Linked DNA regions of Homo sapiens: region 2 is linked to region 1. The links are contacts of gene promoters, found by promoter capture Hi-C in blood cells and fetal thymus (Javierre and others, 2016). All regions are on one chromosome and are shown on one strand. The core of a region is centred on a gene start or on the middle of the fragment in contact, and the rest is flanking DNA. Distances in the headings are between cores, read along the strand shown.

Evidence for each region. Contacts are between HindIII fragments. The CHiCAGO score rates a contact against its expected background, and 5 or more counts as called.
Region 2: a contact is called between a fragment that was not itself captured here and the fragment with the promoter of IRGC in region 1, in 1 of 17 cell types (naive CD8 T cells). The highest score is 6.5, in naive CD8 T cells.

The regions. Positions count from the first base shown.
Region 1 is chr19:43,713,384-43,719,144 of GRCh38, reverse strand. It overlaps IRGC (immunity related GTPase cinema), which reads right to left and starts at 3,069. Exons shown (of 2, transcript NM_019612.4): 1 at 3,003-3,069; 2 at 1-652. The coding sequence starts at 586. RefSeq lists an enhancer at 2,596-3,096. The HindIII fragment of the contact is 15,065 bases long and covers 1-5,761 here.
Region 2 is chr19:37,994,534-37,999,669 of GRCh38, reverse strand. The region is part of intron 1 of SIPA1L3 (signal induced proliferation associated 1 like 3); the gene reads right to left. Among named protein-coding and RNA genes, the nearest start is that of SIPA1L3, 90 kb to the right of the region's middle. RefSeq lists an enhancer at 1-687. The HindIII fragment of the contact is 3,213 bases long and covers 1-3,032 here.

The sequences.
Region 1 (5,761 bases), core at 1,820-4,319:
CTCGGATCTCCTGCAGGACAGCGGCCTCTCTGAAGCCCGACGGCCGCTGGGTGCGCGTGGCCGCCAGGTCCTCGTCCACCTTGGTGCGCACAAAGTAGAACTTCTTGCCCTGGCACAGGATCTCAGCGGCCAGGCGGGTCTCGACGGCCCCGCAGCGGCGGGGGGAGACCAGCAGGAAGAAGTCATAGCGGCTGAAGTCTACCTGCTTTAGGTACTTGTCAGCCGGGCAGCCTGGAGAGCCGGCTCCTGGCAGGTCCCAGAGGGTCACGTCAGGGAACTGTGGGTGTGGATAGGGCGACGGTTGCATCGTGGTCTCCATGACGCCCGTGAGAGCCGCGCCAGGGTCCTCGGCCTCCAGGCCACGCAGGGCATTGATGAGGGAGGACTTGCCCGCGCCCGACTCGCCCGTGACGCCCACCTCCAGGCGGATGCTTTCCGTGGAGGCCAGCAGCTCCTGGAGGTGAGAGGCGGCCTGGGGGAGGTCACCCGACTCAAAGGCTGTGCGCAGGGCCTCCAGCCTTTCCTTGGCCATAAGGATGGTGTTTTCCTCCTCCCCAGGCACCACGGGCAACTTTGAAGTAGCCATGGTGGCCAGTGGTTCAGAGGGTGGCGGGGGACAGGGGAGAGTCACAGGATGCGTGATCCTCAGCGCCTGCAGAGGAGAAGGGAGCCATTCACACCTCCTGGGCCTTGGCATGGGGCAGGGAGAGACAGATACCACGGATGTGAAGGGAGTCGCCCTGGAAGCCCACAGCTCTCTTTTTCCTTCAAGAATTGGGGACACATTTTTGGCACAAGTTAGAGGGCTTTGGGGTCTGGCAGGCCCAGGTTCACATCCCTTTTCTGCCACTAACTTGCTGTGTGACCAGGGGCAAAATGAAGCACCTCTCTGGGTAATGGGCATGACCACCAAGCAGCCTCTTGGAGCACTATTGGAGTCTCCAGGGTAACCTAGGCACAGGTCAGTTTTCTGGGTGTATGTGTGCCCTGGAGGGTTCTGTGCTTAGAATGGCCCAGTGCTTGGTTTAATGCTCTGCTGACACTAGCTGAAATTGTTTGTTTGTTTGTTTGTTTGTTTGAGACAGGGTCTCTCTGTCATCGAGGCTGGAGCACAGTGCTACGATCATGGCTCATTGCAGCCTTGATCTCCTTGGCTCTAGCAATCCTCCCACCTCAGCCTCCTGAACAGCTGGGACCACAGGCGCATGCCACCATGCCCAGCTACTTTTTAAATTTTTTGTAGAGATGGGAGTCTCACTATGTTGTCCCAGCTGGTCTTGAACTTCCGAGATCAAGGTCCTCCTGCCTCAGCTTCCCAGAGCGCTGGGATTAAGGGCATGAGCCACTATGCCTGGCCTGAAATTCTTTATAATATTTGAACCAGGGGCCCCATATTTTCATTTCGTACTGGGCCTTGCAAATTATATAGCCAGGGCAAATTACATAGCCAGGGCTGCATAGGAAAGGGTGGTACAGGCCCATTCAGAGGAAACAGCTGCACTCCTGCGGTGGCTGGGATTGGAGGGTAGGGTGGAGGGGACCCAGACCCGGAGCCAGACTGCCTGGGATCAAATCCTGGCTCCACCACATACTTACTGAGTGATGTGAGGCAAGTTACTTAACTCTCTCCTCACTCTCCTCATCTGAACACTGAGAATGATACCTACAATCCTGGCAAACCACCTCCTAGGATCTCTGTGACTTGAATGAGTTATGACATAAAGCAGCCCATAAAACGGCGCCTGGCTCAGGGCAGGTGCCTCGTGTCATTGGCATCACCATCATCGTCATTATTCTTATCATTAGTAATATTCTTAGCTGTGTGACTTTGAGCAAGTCCTCGCCCTGTCTGAGCCTCAGCTGCCCCGTGGGGGATACTCCTCCCCACCTCGCAGGGCTGCTGTGATGCCCACAAACCCCGTTCAGCTAGCCCTAGGCTGACTTTGGGTTCAGACGCCCTTGGGTTCGGGAAGCCAGACATGGGGACCACCTGGACACCAGGAGTCATTTCCATGAAACCCCACCCCTGCCATGGCAGCCCTTGCCTCCCGGGGTTCAGTTCCCCTCCCACCGCCCAGAGCTCCTGTCGTGATGGTCCCCCCTCAGATCCCTCCTCCTCACCAGGAGCTTCCCTGGTCCTCCCTCTTCCCACTCACCCTCCTCTGGCCCATCATCTCTAAAATACATTTACTCACTAAGGGTCTTCAGGGTGCCCTGGGAGAGCTGCTCATGTCTGGGATCACTGTCCCCATTTGACAGGGAGAAGGACTGAGGCTCAGACAAGACAAATGAGGTCTCCTCATCCAGAGGCATAGCCAGGACCCCAACCCAGGTCCCCAGGCTCCTTCACCCACCTAGAGAGCTACTCTCCCTTCAGCTGCATGTCCCTGCCTCCTGCATTGTCTCCTTGCCCCCTGCACCCCGTCTCTTCACCTCCTACCACTCACCCCATCCTCTGCTACCCCACTCCACCCCCCACAGAAATATGTCCTTAAGACATTGTTCCCGGCTGGGCATGGTGGCTCACGCCTGTAATCCTAGCACTTTGGGAGGCCGAGGTGGGTGGATCACTTGAGGTCAGGAGTTCGAGACCAGCCTGGCCAACATGGTGAAACTCCATCTCCACTAAAAATACAAAAATTAGCCAGGTGTTGTGGCGCATGCCTGTAGTCCCAGCTCTTGAACCCAGGAGGCGGAGGTTGCAGTGAGCCAAGATTGCACCACTGCACTCCAGCCTGGGCGACAGAGCGAGACTCCGTCTCAGAAAAAAAAAAAGGAAAAAAAAAAGACATTGTTGCCTCCAGATCTGAGCCTCCTATCCTGGGTGTGCCCTCTCCCTAGTATGGTCTGCGGTGGGAAGAGTAGGAACCTGGAACAGGTCCTGGCAGCAAGGGGCAGACAAGTCAGTGGTTGGAATTTGGGCTGAGGGGGTCCGGATTAGACCATAAGCTCCTGCTCCGCCCACGCACAGGGGCCCAGCGAGAGAGCCCTGGGGGACTCACCTGCCCTGCAGGCTCTCCCTCTCCCCTCACACTCTCCCCACTGATAGGATCTCCTTCCCTCTTAGCCAAGGTCAGACACCGTTGCTAGGACCCATTATCATAGCAAGCAGCAGCTTATTGGTCAGCCAGACCTGGTGCAATAATGCGACAGTGATGTCAGGGGGTGGGGCCCGGAGGTGGAGCAGGGACCCCAAGCCCCAGCTGCTCATGGGGTCACCACCCACTCACACTGGGCCCTCCAGTTCCCCTGAAGACTCCAGAGAGATCTTTCTAACACCAAGACCTGTTCAAAATCCTCCATGGTCTCCATCACCCCCCAAGGACAAAGTCTCAGATTCACAGATTGGTTTCCAAGGGCTTGGCCCTGCTACCACTCCACCCTCCACCCAGGGGACTGTCAGTTCCCCAGAGAAGTGTGAAAGTTGATGATACAAATTCGGTCATTGCTGGTGGGCACAGTGGCTCACGCCTGTAATGCCAGCACTTTGGGAGGCCGAGGCGAGTGCATCACTTGAGGCCAGGAGTTTGAGATCAGCCTGGGCAATGTGGTGAAACTCCATCTCTACTAAAAATACAAAAATTAGCCAGATGTGGTGCATGCATGTAGTCCCAGCTACTCGGGAGGCTGATCTGCTATCTTGTAAGCCCAATAATTTAGTCATTGATTTCTTTTTTTTCTTTTTTTGAAACAGTGTCTTGCTCTGTCACCCAGGCTGGAGTGCAGTGACACAATCTTGGCTCACTGCAACCTCCGCCTCCTGGGTTCAAGTGATTCTCCTGCTTCAGCCTCCTGAGTAGCTGGGACTACTAGCATGCACCACCAGGCTTGGCTAATTTTTTTTTTTTTTTTTTTTTTTTAGTAGAGGTGGGGTTTCACCATGTTGCCTAGGCTGGTCTTGAACTCCTGACCTCAGGTTATCCGCCTGCCTCGCCTCCCAAACCTCCTGACCTCAGGTTATGCCGCCTCCCAAAGCGCTAAGATTACAGGTGTAGCCACTACACCCGGCCCCTTCTTGTCCTTTATAAGTGTCTCTGTCCTGTCTCCCCTCCGGGCTTCCTCTCTGCCCAGGCCAGGCTCCACAGGGCCTTCTCCATTCTCCTCTTGTAGGGAATTTACAATAACGCTACTCAGAGGATTTTCCTGACCATCTGCAGGCCAGTTCTGGAAAGGAGCCTCTGAGAACAACTAAGGAGAGAGAGGCCCAGAAGGGGAATAGACTAGCTCAGAGCCACCCTGAGAGCTGGGGAAGAGTGGGCTGTTGGCCGCATAGTACAGAGTTCTTAAGCCACAGGTGAAAGGGAGGTGCAGGGCAAAAGACACACGACTCACTCATGCTCTCACTGACTGACACAAACACACAGAGCTGAAGAGAGTGAACAACATGGTTCTCAGACTTCCCCGGACACCGAGCACACAGACCAGCAGACAGCAAGGACTCCTTCCCAAAATGCATGGACACGCACCCCTGGCCCAAGAGAGAAGGGAAAGACACAGAAAGAGCCTCAAATACAGAGTTACTTCGTGGCTGGGCATGGCGGCTCACTCACGCCTGTAATCTCAGCAATTTGGGAGGCCGAGGTAGGAGGTTTGCTTGAGCCCAGGAGGTTGAGACCAGCCTGGGCAACATAGCAAGACCCTATCTCTTTTTTTTTTTTTTTTTTTTGAGACGGAGTCTCGCTCTGTCTCCCACGCTGGAGTGCAGTGGTGCAATCTCGGCTCACTGCAAGCTCCGCCTCCCGGGTTCCTGCCATTCTCCTGCCTCAGCCTCCCGAGTAGCTGGGACTACAGGCGCCTGCCACCGCGCCTGGCTAAATTTTTTTGTATTTTTTAGTAGAGACGGGGTTTCACCGTGTTAGCCAGGATGGTCTCGATCTCCTGACCTCGTGATCCGCCCACCTCGGACTCCCAAAGTGCTGGGATTACAGGCGTGAGCCACCGTGCCTGGCCAAGACCCTATCTCTTAAAAAAAAAAAAAAAATGAGCCAGGTATGATGGTGCACATCTGTAGTCCCAGCTACTCAGGAGGCTGAGGTGGGAGGATTGCTTGAGCCCAGGAGTTCAAGGCTGCAGTGAGCCGTGATCATGCTACTGCACTCCAGCCTGGGTGACTGAGCAAGATTCTGTCTCTAAACGAAACAAAACAACAGAGTCACTGAAGGAAAGCAAGACTCAGACAAACACACACTTACCAAAGCCTCGCAAACACACACATTCCGGGACACAGATGTGCAGACTTTAAGAGACACAGTTACACACTGACAACATATACAGAAACCCCGAAACCCACTGACTCCATTCAGGAACCTCATTCATTCTGCTGCAGCAGCTAGGGCTCCAGAGATGCATCAAACCCAGGCACTGCTTCAGGGGCTCCAGGCCCGAGAAAATGGAGATTATTGCAGCCCAGGATGATTGTGGACCAAGAAAGAGAGCCACTGCCACCTGCACACATGCACCGATGCAGACTGGCATGTTCCCAGGGATGCCCCTAGCAGCTCCTGAGAGCACCAGCCAGAGAGAGAGGGGTTGCACCCTGCCTATCTGCATGCTGGAAACGCAGCAATGGACAAGACAGCCAGGCTCTGCCCCCACAGGACTCAGAGTCCAGTGGTGGAGTCAGATCCATCCCAAGATAATGATGACAGAGGGGGCAGCACTGGGATGGGGGACCCCAGAGGGCTGTGGGAGCACAAAGGAGGAAGCCCGACTCAGCCTGGGAGTCAGGGAGGGCTTCCTGGAGGAGGGGGCACCTGACCTG
Region 2 (5,136 bases), core at 177-2,676, 5.7 Mb after region 1:
GAAACATTCTTAAACGATGACCTTTCTGGAGCAACCAGGGGTCAGTTCCTGGGTGGATCGCCCGCCCGGACTGAGACCCACCCAGTGCCAGATGGACTGCGGAAGCCCCTCCCTAACGTCCACAGGCAGCGGAATGAAGAGCACGTTCAGCGCTGGAAAACCCAGCCCACCACTCACTTCCATGTGCAACTAGAGAGAAGGCTGGGGCGGTTGCCTGTTTAACAAGGATGGGCAAGACTGCTCATGTGCGTCCAGGAGCGGGGCTGGAGTTAATATTTAGTCATTGTGGAAGATTGGCCAGTTACGTTTTTGCCGTCATCACACAGGTCCCTGGAGAAGAGCAGCTTGTGGCTCCCTCCACCCCATGGTAAAACCAGGCCCAGCAGTGAAAGGGATCCCAGGAGTCAGTCACTGGGGGGTTTGGTCTCCTCCTCCTCAGCAGGAAAGAGATGAGAAATTGATGCTTTGGCCTGAAATCCACTATCTGTCCAGTTGCTGAACCAGAAAAGGTCTCCTCACAAAGGGGATGAACGAAGAACTGCAAGGTGGTCATTTACCCATCGCCACCCTGGCTCAGGACCTTCCCAACTGTCTGTGGGCAGCAGGATCGCAGTGCTTTTCATGGTCACACAATTTTTAGTCTTTGTGTGTGTGTGGGTGTGTGTGTGTGTGTGTGTGTGTGTGTGTGTGATAGATAGGGCTGGTTTTTGTTCTGTTAACATGCTAAAAAAAAGTAGGGAGTAAGGTACAATGAACTCCCTTGTACCCAAACCTAGATTCAAAAATTGTCAAGATTCTGCCATATTAGCTTCATCTATTCTTTATTTCTTCCTTTTCCCCCCTTTTCCTTCTTACCAAAGTATTTTATTGTATTTATTTACTTTTGGACAGGGTCTCACTCTGTCTTCCAGGCTGCTACAGTGGTGTGATCTTGGCTCACTGCAGCCTCAACCTCCCAGGCTCAAGTGATCCTCCTGCCTCAGCCTCCTGAGTAGCTAGGACCACAGGCATATCCCACCATGTCTGGTTAATTAATTTATTTTTACTTTTAGTAGAGATGAGGTCTTGCTATGTTGCGCAGGCTGATCTCCAACTCCTGAGCTCAAGCAATCCTCCCACCTTGGTCTCCCAAAGTGCCGGGAATACACATGTGTGGCACCACACCCGGCCTGAAGTATTTTAAAGCAAATGCCGGATATCATGTCATTTCAACTTTATGCGTTTCGGTTTGCAGCTCTGAAAAACATGGACATTTTCTTACATGTCCATAATATTAGGCTGGTTCCATTACCAATCAAAATTACTATGTCCTACCACATACTCCTGGAAAAAATTACTATGAATTCTTTCCTAGAAGATAAGACACAGGGCTGGCTGAGGAACAGGGAAATGGGTCATCTCAGCCTGCAGTAACAGAGTAATGCTTTTCTGGAGGGACTCTAGGCGATACAAATCCAAAAAGGTTTAACAAGCCGTGAGTCGCTTCTGACTCAGATTTTCCATTCATGCACTCATCAAAAGAATATTTACTGATGTCTACCATGTGCCTGGCAGTGCCCTAAGCATTCTTCTCTCTGGTACAGATGTGGAAACTAAGGCACAGAGAGGTAAAGCTACTTGCCCAAGGTTATCTAGCTCTTACCAGCTGGGGCTGGGATTTGAATCCAAGCAGCCCAAGTTTAAATGGCAACACCAGGTCCTGGCAAGGTGCCATTTGGGGCCTTCTACCAATTGGGAGACCAGTGCTCTAGGTTCCAAAGAGCACTCTCTCTCTCTCTTTTTCTTTTCTTTTTTTTTTTTTTTTTGAGATGGAGTCTCGCTCTGTCGTCAGGCTGGAGTGAAGTGGCACAATCTCAACTCACTGCAACCTCTGCCTCCCAGGTTCAAGCGATTCTCCCGCCTCAGCCTCCGGAGTAGCTGGACTACAGGAGCGCACCACTGCGCCCAGATAATTTTTGTATTTTTAGTAGAGACGGGGTTTCACCATGTTGGCCAGGATGGTCTCGATCTCTTGACCTCGTGATCCACCTGCCTCGGCCTCCCGAAGTGCTGGGATTACAGGCATGAGCCAACGTGCCCGGCCTTTTTTTTTTTTTTTTTTAATGAGACAGTCTCACTCTGTTGCCCAGGCTGGAGTGCAGTGGCACAATCTCAGCTCACTGCAACCTCCATCTCCTGGGTTCAAGTGATTCTCGTGCCTCAGCCTCCCGAGTAGCTGAGACTACAGGCATATGCTACCACGCCTGGCTAATTTTTGTATTTTTAGTAGAGATCGGGTGTCACCATGTTGGCCAGGCTGGTCTCGAACTCCTGACCTCAAGTGATCCGCCTGCTTCAGCCTCCCAAAGTGCTGGGATTATAGATGTGAGCCACCGTGCCCGGCCCAAAGAACATTCTCTAACTGTACTGGTGAATGCCTACCATGTGGAATCTTCCCAAACCCTATGTATGAGGCAGGGAAGATTGTATTAGTCCCACTTTTCAGACAAGGAAACTAAAGTACAGAAGACGAAGGTATCTATTAAAAGTTGCACATGTACTTGTGGATATTATGTTGTGTATCTAGCATCTCTACCTCATCTTCCCCCACCCACTCCCAAATACCACCTTCTTGGATAGGCATACAACCCAAATGGAATATTCCCTGGGGCTAGTATAAAAACACTGAGGATTGGCCGGGCACGGTGGCTCACGCCTGTAATCGCAGCACTTTGGGAGGCTGAGACGGGTGGATCACCTGAGGTCAGGAGTTCGAGACCAGCCTGGCCAACATGGTGAAACCCCGTCTCTACTAAAAATACAAAAATTAGCTGGGCGTCGTAGTGGGTGCCTGTAATCCCAGCTACTTGGGAGGTTAAGGCAGGGAGAATTGCTTGAACCCAGAAGGTGGAGGGTGTAGCGAGCTGAGATGGCACCACTGCACTACAGCCTAGGCAACAGAGTGAGACTCTGTCTCAAAAAAATAAAATAAAATAAAATACAGAGGATGGCAGTGGAGGATTGTGGAGATGTTGGTCAAAGGACACAAAGCTTCAGTTGGACAAGAGAAATAAGTTCAAGAGAGCTACTGTACATCATGGTAGCAACAATTACTAACAATACATGGCATACTTCAAAATGGCTGAGAGAGTAGACTTTAAGTGTTCTCACTACAAAAAAAGCAAGTGAGGTAATGCATTATGTTAAATGGCTTGACTTAGCCATTCTACAATGTACACACATACCAAAACAGCATGTTGTATACCATAAATATATGTGATGTTTACTTATCAATTAAAAACAATAAAGGCTGGGCTCCCGCCTGTAAATCCAGATACTCGGGAGGCTGAGGAGGAAGGATCATTTGTGTCCAGGAGGTCGAGGCTGCAGTGAGCTCTGATTGAACCACTACACTCCAGCCTGGGTAACAGAGCAAGACCCTGTCTCTAAGTAAATAAATACTGGCTGGGTGTGCTGGCTCACGCCTATAATCCCAACACTTTGGTTGGCCAAGGCAGGAGGATCACTTGAGGCCAGGAGTTTGAGACCAGCCCTGGCAATGTAGTGAGACCCCATCTCTACACACACACATCCCCCAAAAATTTAAAAATCAGCCAGGTGTGGTGGTGCATGCCTGTACTCCTAGCTATTTGGAGGCTGAGGTGGGAAGACTGCTTGAGGCCAGGAGTTCAAGGTTACAGTGAACTATGATCATGCCCTTCACCCCAGCCTGGGTGACAGACCTAGACCCTGTCTCGGAACAAAACAAACCACTGAAGACTCTAAATCCTCTTTCCACTGAGTTGATAAACCAGGAGGATCTGCCCGACTCCAGCCTGCTGGCAGAGCGAAGCCAAGGAGAGCCCCAATGGCACGTGTGGGCCCCATACTCGGGCTGCATCTGAAGCTCCCCTCCTACAGACTTCCCAGTGACATAAGACAAATTCACCTTTCAACCCAAAGAGGCTTCCTTAACCCACCCAGCATACACTGTCCCAACCCGCTTTTGTTCATTCTGTGCCCTCTGCCCAGGCCCCACCTCCTCAGGCCATTTTCCTGTGTATCTGGCAGAACTCCTACTAACCTTTCGAAGGCCAGCCCAACCACCCCTCTTCACAGTTCTCCCTGATGGTGCCCAAGCCGAGTTTCTCTTTCCTGTGTTCCCCCGCACTTGCAGCTCATCTACTCACCACGCTGCATTATGGCCGGCTGGGTGTCCCCCTCAGGAAGGTAGCACTGCACAGGGGTTAAAACTGCAGGCTCTGTGGGAATACATGGCTTCAGATCCCTGCTCTGTCCCTCCACGCTGTATGAGATGCCAAGCAAGCCATTCTCTCACCTCTCTGATCCTTGATTTCTCTCATCTATAGCAAGGGTGGTAATAGCACCCACCCACAGCAGACACTTGGTTGTCTAGCGGATGCCACTGCCATCCCCTGTCTCTTGCTGTCTCTCACGGTACAGACATGTGCTGCCCCAGCCTCCCTTGCAGCTAGGGCCGGCCCCTGGCTCCTTTATGGCCAATGGAATGTAAAGAGAGGTCTGCTGGGAGGAGGGGTATTTATAAGAACATATTCTCTTTCAAACGGAAAGGCACGTGAAGAGGAAACCTTTCCCCTACTCCTCTCCTCCTAGCTCAGGATGCCGTGTCTGAGGATCTGATCCTCAGGCTGGGGCAGCCATCCCATGACCACACAATGACCAACCCCACCAGCACGAACGAAACGCCTGCACACAGAGGGTTGAACACAGAAACATAAGTGCCTGGAGTTCCAGGTGAGCACCTCTGCACCAGCCATGGAGCTTGTCTCCTCCAGGATGTTTGCAATGGGGCGTCTCTACTGCTCAGCCAGGAGTCACCAGACGTCTTGTTACCTGCAGCCCAGTGTGTCCCAACTGACAGATCGAAAGATCACATGGTAGAGGGAGGGTTCAATGCCATCAAGCATGGGAAGTGCTTGGCACTCACTCACATTGGTTAAAGATTATTACCACTATCACAGGTAGCTGCTCAAGGCCATTCCACAGCTCTCACATCCCACTGCAGGAAGAGAAGGCGCTAGCGATAAACACTTGGTATATTTCCTCATCCATCCCACCACCTCTGATGTGGGAAACTACAGCAGCCAGGGCGGCTGCTCCACTCTAGAGTGGCTG